2 separate regions of the Homo sapiens genome follow, and region 1 is linked to region 2. The links are contacts of gene promoters, found by promoter capture Hi-C in blood cells and fetal thymus (Javierre and others, 2016). All regions are on one chromosome and are shown on one strand. Each heading gives the region's core, a stretch centred on a gene start or on the middle of the fragment in contact. The rest is flanking DNA. Distances are from core to core; before and after follow the strand shown.

Region 1 (4,980 bases), core at 663-3,162, 86 kb after region 2:
CCCAGACCCCTCCCTAGAGACTGGGCCAGCTGGGGCTGGGTCCCCTGGCTGCTGGCTGCAGCTGGGGTCATCTGACAGCCCACTGCCCTCCTGTCTGTCCTGACTCTGCCTGCTACCACAGACATGGTGTGAGAATGAGAGGGACAGAGGTGGGGTCCCCTTTCTCCATGTCTTTCTTCCTTCCTTCCTTCCTTCCTTCCTTCCTTCCTTCCTTCCTTCCTCCCTCCCCCTCCTCGTCCTCCTCCTCCTCCTCTCCTTCTCCTTCTTTTCTCTCTCTCTCTTTTTTGAGATGGAGTTTCACTCTTGTTGCTCAAGCTGGAGTGTAGTGGCACGATCTCGGCTCACTGCAACCTCTGCCTCCTGGGTTCAAGTGATTCTCTTGCCTCAGCCTCCTGAGTAGCTGGGATTACAGGTGTGCACCACCACACCCGGCTAATTTTTGATATTTTTAGTAGAGACAGGGTTTCACCATGTTGGCCAGGCTGGTCTTGAACTCCTGACCTCAGGTGATCCACCTGCCTCGGTCTCCCAAAGTGCTGGGATTACAGGTGTGAGCCACTGTGCCTGGCCCCTGTCTCTTTCAATAAAGACACTTCTACTGGATTAAACCCACCAGCGAGTCAGAACCCTTCTGCCGGTGCTCATCCGGCCCCTCTATTGGCCTTCCTCTCTCATGAGGTTGTCTTGGGCCCTGTCAGTGCAGGGGGCCTGGGGTCGGCCAAGTCCCCTCCTCGGGTGTCCCAGAGCAAGTTCTCCAAGCCTCTGGAGGAGTCTCTGAACCCCTGGCTTTAGCAGCTCCTGACTTCCAGACTGTAGGCACAGGATGGTCCCTAAATGCTCCCATCTTCAAACCGGAAACAAAGAGGGACCCACCGCACCTGGAAGACGATGACAAACGCCAGCCGGGCTGCCAGGACGGCCCAGAAGTCCTTGGAGATGTCGTACTTGTTTTCCGACCACGGCGGCTCTCGGTAGTCTTTATACCTGCAAAAGACCGTGGTGGAGTCGAGGGTGGGACTTCGGTGGGGCTCAGGCTCTGGCTGGAGTCAGGCAGCTCGAGGGACGCCTGGGAGAGGCTCAGCTTGGTGTGCGGCTGCCTCCGGGAGGGCAGCCCTCTCTTGGGCGAGCAGCCCATGGCCCCGCACCCACGGAGTCTCTCTCCACAGTGGAGGGGGTTGGTCAGGATCCCCCATGGGCCAGGCAGGACCTGACGGGCTTCATGTAAAACACATGTGGCAGGAAGTATCCCCAGGCCCAGCCGTGGGCTCACAGAATCAAGGGTGGGGACCATGTGGTCCAGGAGGTTGCAAACTTTTAAAAGCAGTGGAGCCTTTGTTCCCAAAAGGTCTCACTGGAAACTCCAATAGGCCCCAAGAGTGCAGAGCCTACTTGGTTGAAGTCGGGGGGGTTCCCTAAGCTTGAACCTCCTGAACCTCAACCCAACGCCCATGCTCCACAGAACTTCAGAATGGGTTCCATGAAACACCCCTCCAGTCCATCCCCTCTTTGAGGGAATCTACCAAAGAAAAACCTCTGAGCACTTTATTAGCCAGGTGTGGTGGCTCGTGCCTGTAACCTCAGCACTGTAATCTCAGGCTGAGGAGTTAGAGATCAGTCTGGGCCACACAGTAAAACCCTGTCTCTGCAAAAAATACAAAAATTAGCCGGGCCTGGCAGTGCACGCCTGTATTCCCAGCTACTCGGGAGGCTGAGGTGGGAGGATCACCTGAGCCCGGGAGGTTGAGGTTGCAGTGAGCTTTGATCACGCCACTGCTCTTCAGCCTGGGCCACAAAGTGAGACCGTCTCTAAAAAAAGCAAACCAAACAACAACCAAAAAACACAGCAAAACAATACCCTGAACATTTTATCAAAGTAACTTAAGCAGTTTATCAAACATTTGCGAAAGAACGAAGCTAAGCATTCCGCTGGTGCAGGCAGAGGCGTGTCAGGCAGCCGGCCTGGCCCGCCCTGCCCTACCCGGGTCTGGGGCTGCTTTTCCTCCTCCAGGGTTGCTGCTTGGTCCTCACCTCCTTATCTTGAAGGAACTGCCCCTGGTTCTCATTACCAGCTTTAGATGTAGCTGACTGATCTCCTGCTTGGAGAGTCAAGCTCACTCACACCCCTCTCCCCAAGGTCCTGCCACTGACCTTGGCTCTTCGTGGATATGATTGGAGCCTCAGGAAGGAGGCTTGCCCCATTCATGACCACTGCCCGTGCTCCAGTTCTCCCCAGCCCCTTCCTCTTTTCACAGAGACCCAGAGATGCCCAGGGTCTGTGGGGGCAGGGTGAGGTCTCTGCCTAGGGCCTCCCTCCCTCCACAGCTCCCTGAATCTGGGGGATGCCACACATCAGCTGGAACATAGCTTGAATGGAGCTGACGTCCCCACCCTGCATTGGAAAAGCTTCCCAAAGCTGGACAGAAAATGCCCCCATGAGGGGCAGGATTTCCAGGGGCTCAGGGGCCGTTTGTGCCCCTGTTGGTCACTAAAACCTGAGGTCAGTCGGGGAGGCTAGGAGAAGGGCCACCTGGATTTGCAGGCACAGCCCTGGCCTGGACCCACATCCCTGGTGCTCGCCCACTCCGACTACCACCTTGCTGTGTGTCCCCTGGGCAATCACTTGACCTCTCTGGGCCTCAGTCTGGGCATTCCCTCACTTACTTATGTCACAAGCATTTATTGACCAACTACTATGTGCCAGACCCCACCCCAGGGATGGAGAATTCCGGGGTGGGGGGCGGTGCACAACAGATAGGGCCCTTGCCTACGGAGCTTGATTTCTGGAGGGAGCTGGATGGGAGTCTCCGAGGGCCTATTCAGCACTGAGCTGCCAACTCCTGAGATAGGATCAGGCTGGGCCACGGCTCTGGTGCCAGCTGCTGGGCCAGGCAGAAGTTGCACAACCTGCTTTCCCATGGGAACAAGCAGCCCTGTCCTCCCAGTGTCAGAAGCCACACGCACCAGCTCGTTCCTCTTTATTCTGTGCTCAAGGCTTTGCCTGCTAGCATCTGTCTCCTCTTCTTCAAGTCATAGCACCCCAGTTTTCCCTAGGACCCCCCCATTCTCTGTGACCTCACACCCTGGCACATGACCCAGGCCAAGCCAAGGAGAGCCCCCCTCCTCATGGCAATAGTGGTTGGTTCAAGAATGGACATCTGACCCAAGATGGGGCAGTAAGACTCAGTCCCTGGATTTTCACTGACTATTGGGAAACAGAAGGTCTTCCCACAGGGGCTGCAGAGCAGAAAGGATTGAAGCCAGGAGCTGCTAGGGATCCTTTTCATCAGCAAGAGAACAATGCAACACAGAGGAAATCAAAGTGGAGAGGCAGTGCCAGAGTGGAGCCTGATGGCAAACTGTAGCTCCTGGATCCAGCCATGCCTGAAGCTATCCTGGGCTTCTTAGTTACAGGAACTGGTAAATCACCTCTAATTTCCTCCCCTTAGGCATTTGTTTATTTCTTTATAGATAGGGTCTCACTCTGTTGCCCAGGCTGGAGTGCAGTGGTGCGATCATAGCTCACTGCAGCCTCAAATTCCTAGGCTCAATTGATCCTCCCACCTCAGCCTCCCGAGTAGCTAGAACTACAGGTGAGTGCCACAACGCCCGGCTATTTAAAAAATTTTTTGTAGAGATGAGGTCTCACTATGTGGCTCAGGCTGGTCTCTAACTCCTGAGCTCAAGTGATCCTCCTGCCTGGCCCTCCCAAAGTGCTGGGATGACGGGTGTGAGCCACTGCACCAGCCTTTTTTTTTTTCCTTCTTCTTCTTTTTAAGCAAGTTTGCGTTGTTTCATGACTTGCTCCTGATTTGAGCCCCGTCCAAACCCAGGCTCTCCCAGAAACCCAATAAACGTGGCTTTTCAAAGAGGGGAGCAGAGAGCAGTACCTGCAGATCTGCACCTCGTAGCCCAGGTCCAGGGGGTCATTGGGGGCCGTGCCGTTCTGGAAGTCACTGACGTTGAAGGAGGAGAGGGTGTGGTTGACGAAGCCGTGCATGGTCCCGTTCTTACTGTACATGTAGAGGTACACCAGGCGCGGGATGAAGTCAGACGTGAAGGAGATCACGAAGGCCTGTGCAGGGGACATGGCAGTGAGGGGGACCCCCAGCCTGGGCGCAGAAGGGCCGGCCGCAACAGGGGGTGACCCATCCACAGTTACACTGGACCCTGGCCATATGCCACTGCCTCTGGCGGGGACCATAGCCGCACAGCCTCGGCATGCTGAGTGAATGGATGCAGGGTCGCGGGTGTTCCTCTCAGCCCCCTGGCAGCTGAAGGAGAGTGCCTGGTGGCCAGAACAGTGCACTTCTAGGAGAGAAGGCACCAGGCAGACGCTGGCAGCCTCTTGCTGGCTGTGTGGCCTTGGGCAAATCACCCAACCTCTCTGTGCCTCCATTTTCTTCTTGTCAAAACAGGGCTAACAACACCCACACCATGTATGCACTGTGCCTCTGGGCTTGTTGGAGAAGGGAATGAGGCAGGAAGGGAAAGTGCTTTGCAAGCTCTCAAGTCCTCACCCGGCTCATTCTATTATAGCACCGGCTCTGGCTGGTGCCCTTACAAGAGAGGAAACCAAGGCCCAACGGCTGCCTCTCACATGGCTGTGTGGCCTTGGGCAAATCACCTAACCTCTCTGTGCCTCTGGTGTCTTACCTGTAAGATGGGGCCATGGCAGTCCTCGCCTTCAAGGGCTGTCTGCAGACCAGTGGGCTAGTGTGTGGAAAGAGCTTAGAAGGTTCTAGAACATTCTAGGTGCCTCGTGAATGTTTCCTGCTACTACTTTTTTTTTTTTTTTCAGAGAGAGAGACATGGTCTCACTGTGTTTCATTATGTTGGCCAGGCTGGTCTTGAATTCCTCGCCTCAAGCGATCCTCCTGCCTTGGCCTCCCAAAGTGCTGGGATTACAGGTGTGAGCCACCGGGCCCAGCCTGCTGTTATTGTTGTTGCTGCTGTTGTCCTCAGGAGATGCCCACTGTGCTC
Region 2 (4,548 bases), core at 1-2,500:
CCAAAGGACTACCCTCACAAAAAAGGGCAAGCCCTGGGGTAGTCTGTTTGCAAAGCTGTACTTGTTTTTGCTGAAAACAAGTGTGCTTCTGTTACCTATTTTTTTTACTTCCCAGTGGGGTGGGGAGGGTGGGGGGGTAGGGGGGGAGAAAGTCAAAACACATGTCACCCAATCATTTTTCAGGAAAAGCACAGAAGGAGCATACAACCAGCAAAACTGACAAGTACAAAATCCATCAGGCATCTTGCAGGAATGTGTGCAGTCAGCTCCCGGGAAGAACTGACGGCTCCCTGAATTCTTGGGCTGGATTTGGTGAGCACTAAAAGGAACCGGATTCGTTAAACGCTGGTAGAAGTGTTTTCCAATGGCTGCAACGGTTGGTCAACCTAACTTACGTAAGTTTACAACCGAAAAAAAAAATCCACAATGGAAATATAGCAGGTCGATACAGCCGGGGGCGGCTAGGAAAGAGGGAAAAGTGAAAGGTGAGATTACGAGAGTCTATTAAGTGTCTGGGATATAAAGACAGCGCCAGGGAAAGGGGAAGTCGCTTCTGAGCCTTTCGGGCAGTACTGGGGGCGCGGTGGACCCCTGAGAGGGGGATGCCCCAGACGGCGCACCTGATGGGGATGGTGACCTCCAGCCTGCTCGAGCCGCACTCCTCCCCTCCTGTATCAGGTGCGGCGGAAGCCCCGAACCCCGGGGGGTGAGGACCGTTGACAACGGAGCCCGCTCGGGCCAGGGCTTTCAGCGGCCACAGGTCCCCGCCCCTCGCCCCAGCGCCCGGGTCACGGGGCGCGGGGCTCGGGGAGGGGCAGCGCGCAGTCCCCGGAGCCGTCCCTTGGGGCGCGGGTGTCCCGCCGGAGCTCTCCCAGCGCGACCCGGCGCCGCGGCCTCGCCCCCACCCGTCCCGGAGCGCACCCTTCCCCGCGGAGACATCTAATCGGCTGCGTGGCCGCCGCGGAGACCGGGACGCGCCGGTGACGCCTGGGCCCCGAGCCTGCCTCAGTGTCCCGCTCCCTTACCTTGCTCGCCGGCGGGAGCGGGCGAGGAGGCTCCGCGGCGGCTCGCGGGCGGCTGCTCGCTCCGGGAGAGCTTGGGAGCCGACGAAAGCAGCCCGCGGCCGGCGTCCGCCTGCCCGCCCCACGCCGCGGCCCCGGGGCCCGCCGCCCCAGTCACTAAGGCCGGCCCGCGGCCGGACACTGGCGGAGCGGAGGAGGAGCGGGCCCGGCTGCGCGGCGCCGGCGTCTACGTGCCCGACGTCGAGCGCGTCGGCGCGAGCGTCAGCACCGCCCCGGGGGCGGGGCCCGAGGAGCACCTTGGCCCGAGTACGCAAGCGCTGTCTCCTCAGGAGGGGGCGGGAGGCGGCCCCGGGGCACTGATTGGCTGAGCGAGACGGGAGCCACGCCCCCCAGGCCCCGCCCGGGTCGCGGGGGAGGGGGCGGTCTCCGGGATGAGCCACAGGTGGGCGCTCAGGTGCTCGCCGGGTCAGCGTCTTCCTCCGGGCGTCCCCAGTTTCCCCCCACGGCTGCAGGGACGCCGGAGGCCTTTGCTGAGTGTCTACCGCGCCTCGAGTTCTGAGCTGGACGCGTCCGGCACGTCAGGTCCCTCCCGAGCTGGAGGCTCTGGATTCGCACCTTGCAGAAGAGCGAACCGAGGCTTCAGTCACCACCGAGGACCCAGACCCCGCCCGCCGCGGCGCCCCTACGGTCTCCCTGGGCCTGATCTGGGTTCAGAAGGACGGAGTTCCCGCCAGGACCCACTTACGGAGCGCTGCCTGCCGCACCTGGGGACGTCCCGGCGCAGCGTCCAGAGTGCAGGCTTTGCCGCTGTGGCTTTCACTCTGCAGCGTGGGCCCGGGCGACTCGGGAAACCCGCCTGGGCTTCAGCGCCTCCGATGTAGGATGGGAAAATGATGCAGACCTACCTGCGAGGCTGCTTTAAGACATGAATCAGATGTGAAGAGCGACTAGTTGAGAGCCTGACGGGCAGCACTGCGCGAGTCTTGGTCATTTCATCTTTTCCGCAAGTTTTTTTTTTTTTCCAGACGTTGTTTCACTCTTGTCACCCAGGCTGGAGTGCAATGGCGCCATCTCGGCTCACTGCAACCTCTGCCTCCCGGGTTCAAGTGATTCTCCTGCCTCAACCTCCCGTGTAGCTGGGATTACAGGCGCACGCCACCAAGTCCAGATAATTTTGTATTTTTAGTAGAGACGGGATTTCTACATGTTGGTCGAGCTGGTCTCGAACTCCTGACCTCAGGTGGTCTGCCCGCCTCAGCCTCCCAAAGTGTTGGGATTACAGGCGTGAGCCACTGCGCCCGGCCTCAGCAAGAATTTTTAAACATCTACTATGGGCCAAGTCTTGTGCTAGATGTTGCAGATACGGAGATGAATAGAGACACCTCTAATTAATTAAAGCGGATGCCCTCCCCACTCCTCCCAGGATTTGACTCGGAGCACAAACTCTTCACAAACCAAAATGTCAGGACACCATCGCCAGTGTCCACTGGCCACTGCTGTTGGTGTGAGGCAGCCAGGAGCCCCTCAGAACTAGTAAGTCTGAGAAGAGGCTGCACGGGGCCTAGGAGAGGGAGAAATGAGCCCGTCCAAGGTGAATTCCTTGATTCTCCATTGTGAGTGCACCAAGAACAAGCACTCCCTCCGACTGACTCTCGCCTACCAGGATCTGGAACACCTTCCATTAATTTATTCGTTCATTCAATAAATATTTATTGACTGACTACACATAGATATGAATATGTACTTTTTGCCCCTAGTTTCTTGCTATTTTAAAAGTGTAAAAATGGCCAGGTGAGGCCGGGTGCGGTGGCTCAAGCCTGTAATCCCAGCACTTTGGGAGACCCAGGTGGGCAGATCACTTGAGGTCAGGAGTTCAAAACCAGCCTGGCCAACATGGTGAAACCCTATCCCTACTAAAAATACAAAAATTAGCCGGGTGTGGTGGCGGGCATCTGTAATCCCAGCTACTCAGGAGGCTGAGGTGGAAGAATAGCTTGAACCTGGGAGGTGGAGGTTGCAATGAGGAGATCATGCCACTGCGCTCCAGGCTGGGAGACAAAGCGAGGCTCTGTCTCAGAAAAAAAAAAAAAAAAAAAACATTGGCCAGGTGCAGTGGCTCACGTCTGTAATCCCAGCACGCTGGGGGGCCAACGTGGGAGGATTGCTTGAGCCTGGGCAATATATCGAGACCCATGTCTATACAAAAAATTAAAAATTAGTCCAGCAAGGTGGGCCACACCTGTAGTCCCAGGTACTTGGGGGATTGAGGTGGGAGGATCGCTTGAGCCTGAGAGGTCGAGGCTGCAGTGAGCTGTGATTGTGCCACTGCATTCCAGCCTGGGTGCCAAAGCGAGACTCTGTCTCAAAAATAATAAAATTGTAAAGTTGATCGCTTAGATGAGGTGTTCTGCAAGTACCCTGTACCTCTCCACACCCCAGCAATTCTGCACAACTCCCAAGTTCCCCTGAACCACTGTCTGAAACCAGCAAATTTCCAGCTCTCCTTAGGGGTACCTGCTTAATGCAGCCAGCTTATGTTTGCACCATGCTCATAAAGTGTCTGTTTTCTAAGAAATCGGCTCAAGGCCGGGCGCAGTGGCTCACGCCTGTAATCCCAGCACTCTGGGAGGCCGAGGTAGGCGGATCACGAGTTCAGGAGATCGAGACCATCCTGGCTAACACAGTGAAACCCTGTCTCTACTAAAAATACAAAAAATTAGCCGGGCGTGGTGGCAGGCGCCTGTAGTCCCAGCTACTCGGGAGGCTGAGGCAGGAGAATGGCGTGAACCCGGGAGACGGAGCTTGCAGCGAGCCGAGATCGCGCCACTGCACTCCAGCCTGGGCAACAAAGCGAGACTCCATCTCAAAAAAAAAAAAAAAAAGAAAAATCGGCTCAAGATCAAAATTTAGTTCGGCAGGGTAGAATGTTCATTCATTTCATGAATATTTGTGCAGCATGTATGAGCCAAGCATGGCTTAGGTCTTGGGAACGCAGAGCTAAGACATCACTTCTAGTATGAGTTCACAGTCTGGAGAAAGAGAAGAAAAACAGACTATTGCAATGTCTGTCCCGTAAACAGTGTGTGACTTGGTGCTGTGGAATCACAGGGAAGGGAGGAACCCGCTCTCCAGCTGGCATCATGGGGGCTTCATAGAGGAGGCAATATCTGAGCTGGGTCTTGAATGATGTGGGATTTTTCCAGCGGAGAAGGGAGACACCCAGTTGGTATAGCTCCAGGAAAATGAGAATTCTGAATTTCATTTTATTTCTTTCTTTTCTTTCTTTTTCCTTCCTTCCTTGCTTCCTTCCTTCCTTCCTTCCTTCCTTCCTCCCTTCCTTCCTTCCTTCCTTCCTTCCTTCCTCTCTCTCTCTCCCTCCCTCCCCTCCCCTTACCCTTCCTTTGTTCTTTTTCTCTCTCTTTTTTTTTTTTTTTTTGAGACAGGGTCTCATGTAGTCACCTAGGCTGGGATATAGTGGTTCGAACACAGTTTACTGCAGCCTCTACCTCCCAGGCCCATCAGTCAT

What was found. Contacts are between HindIII fragments. The CHiCAGO score rates a contact against its expected background, and 5 or more counts as called.
Region 1: a fragment that was not itself captured here is called in contact with the fragment with the promoter of PPFIA1 in region 2 in 1 of 17 cell types (neutrophils); the score reaches 5.3 in neutrophils.

Annotation. Positions count from the first base shown.
Region 1 is chr11:70,181,594-70,186,573 of GRCh38, reverse strand. It overlaps ANO1 (anoctamin 1), which reads right to left. Exons shown (of 26, transcript NM_018043.7): 24 at 3,888-4,072; 25 at 879-984. Among named protein-coding and RNA genes, the nearest start is that of FADD, 19 kb to the left of the region's middle. The HindIII fragment of the contact is 986 bases long and covers 1,420-2,405 here.
Region 2 is chr11:70,267,392-70,271,939 of GRCh38, reverse strand. PPFIA1 (PPFI scaffold protein A1) reads right to left here and starts at 1,250. Exons shown (of 28, transcript NM_003626.5): 1 at 1,026-1,250. RefSeq lists silencers at 646-1,075, 1,116-1,665. The HindIII fragment of the contact is 13,908 bases long and covers 1-4,548 here.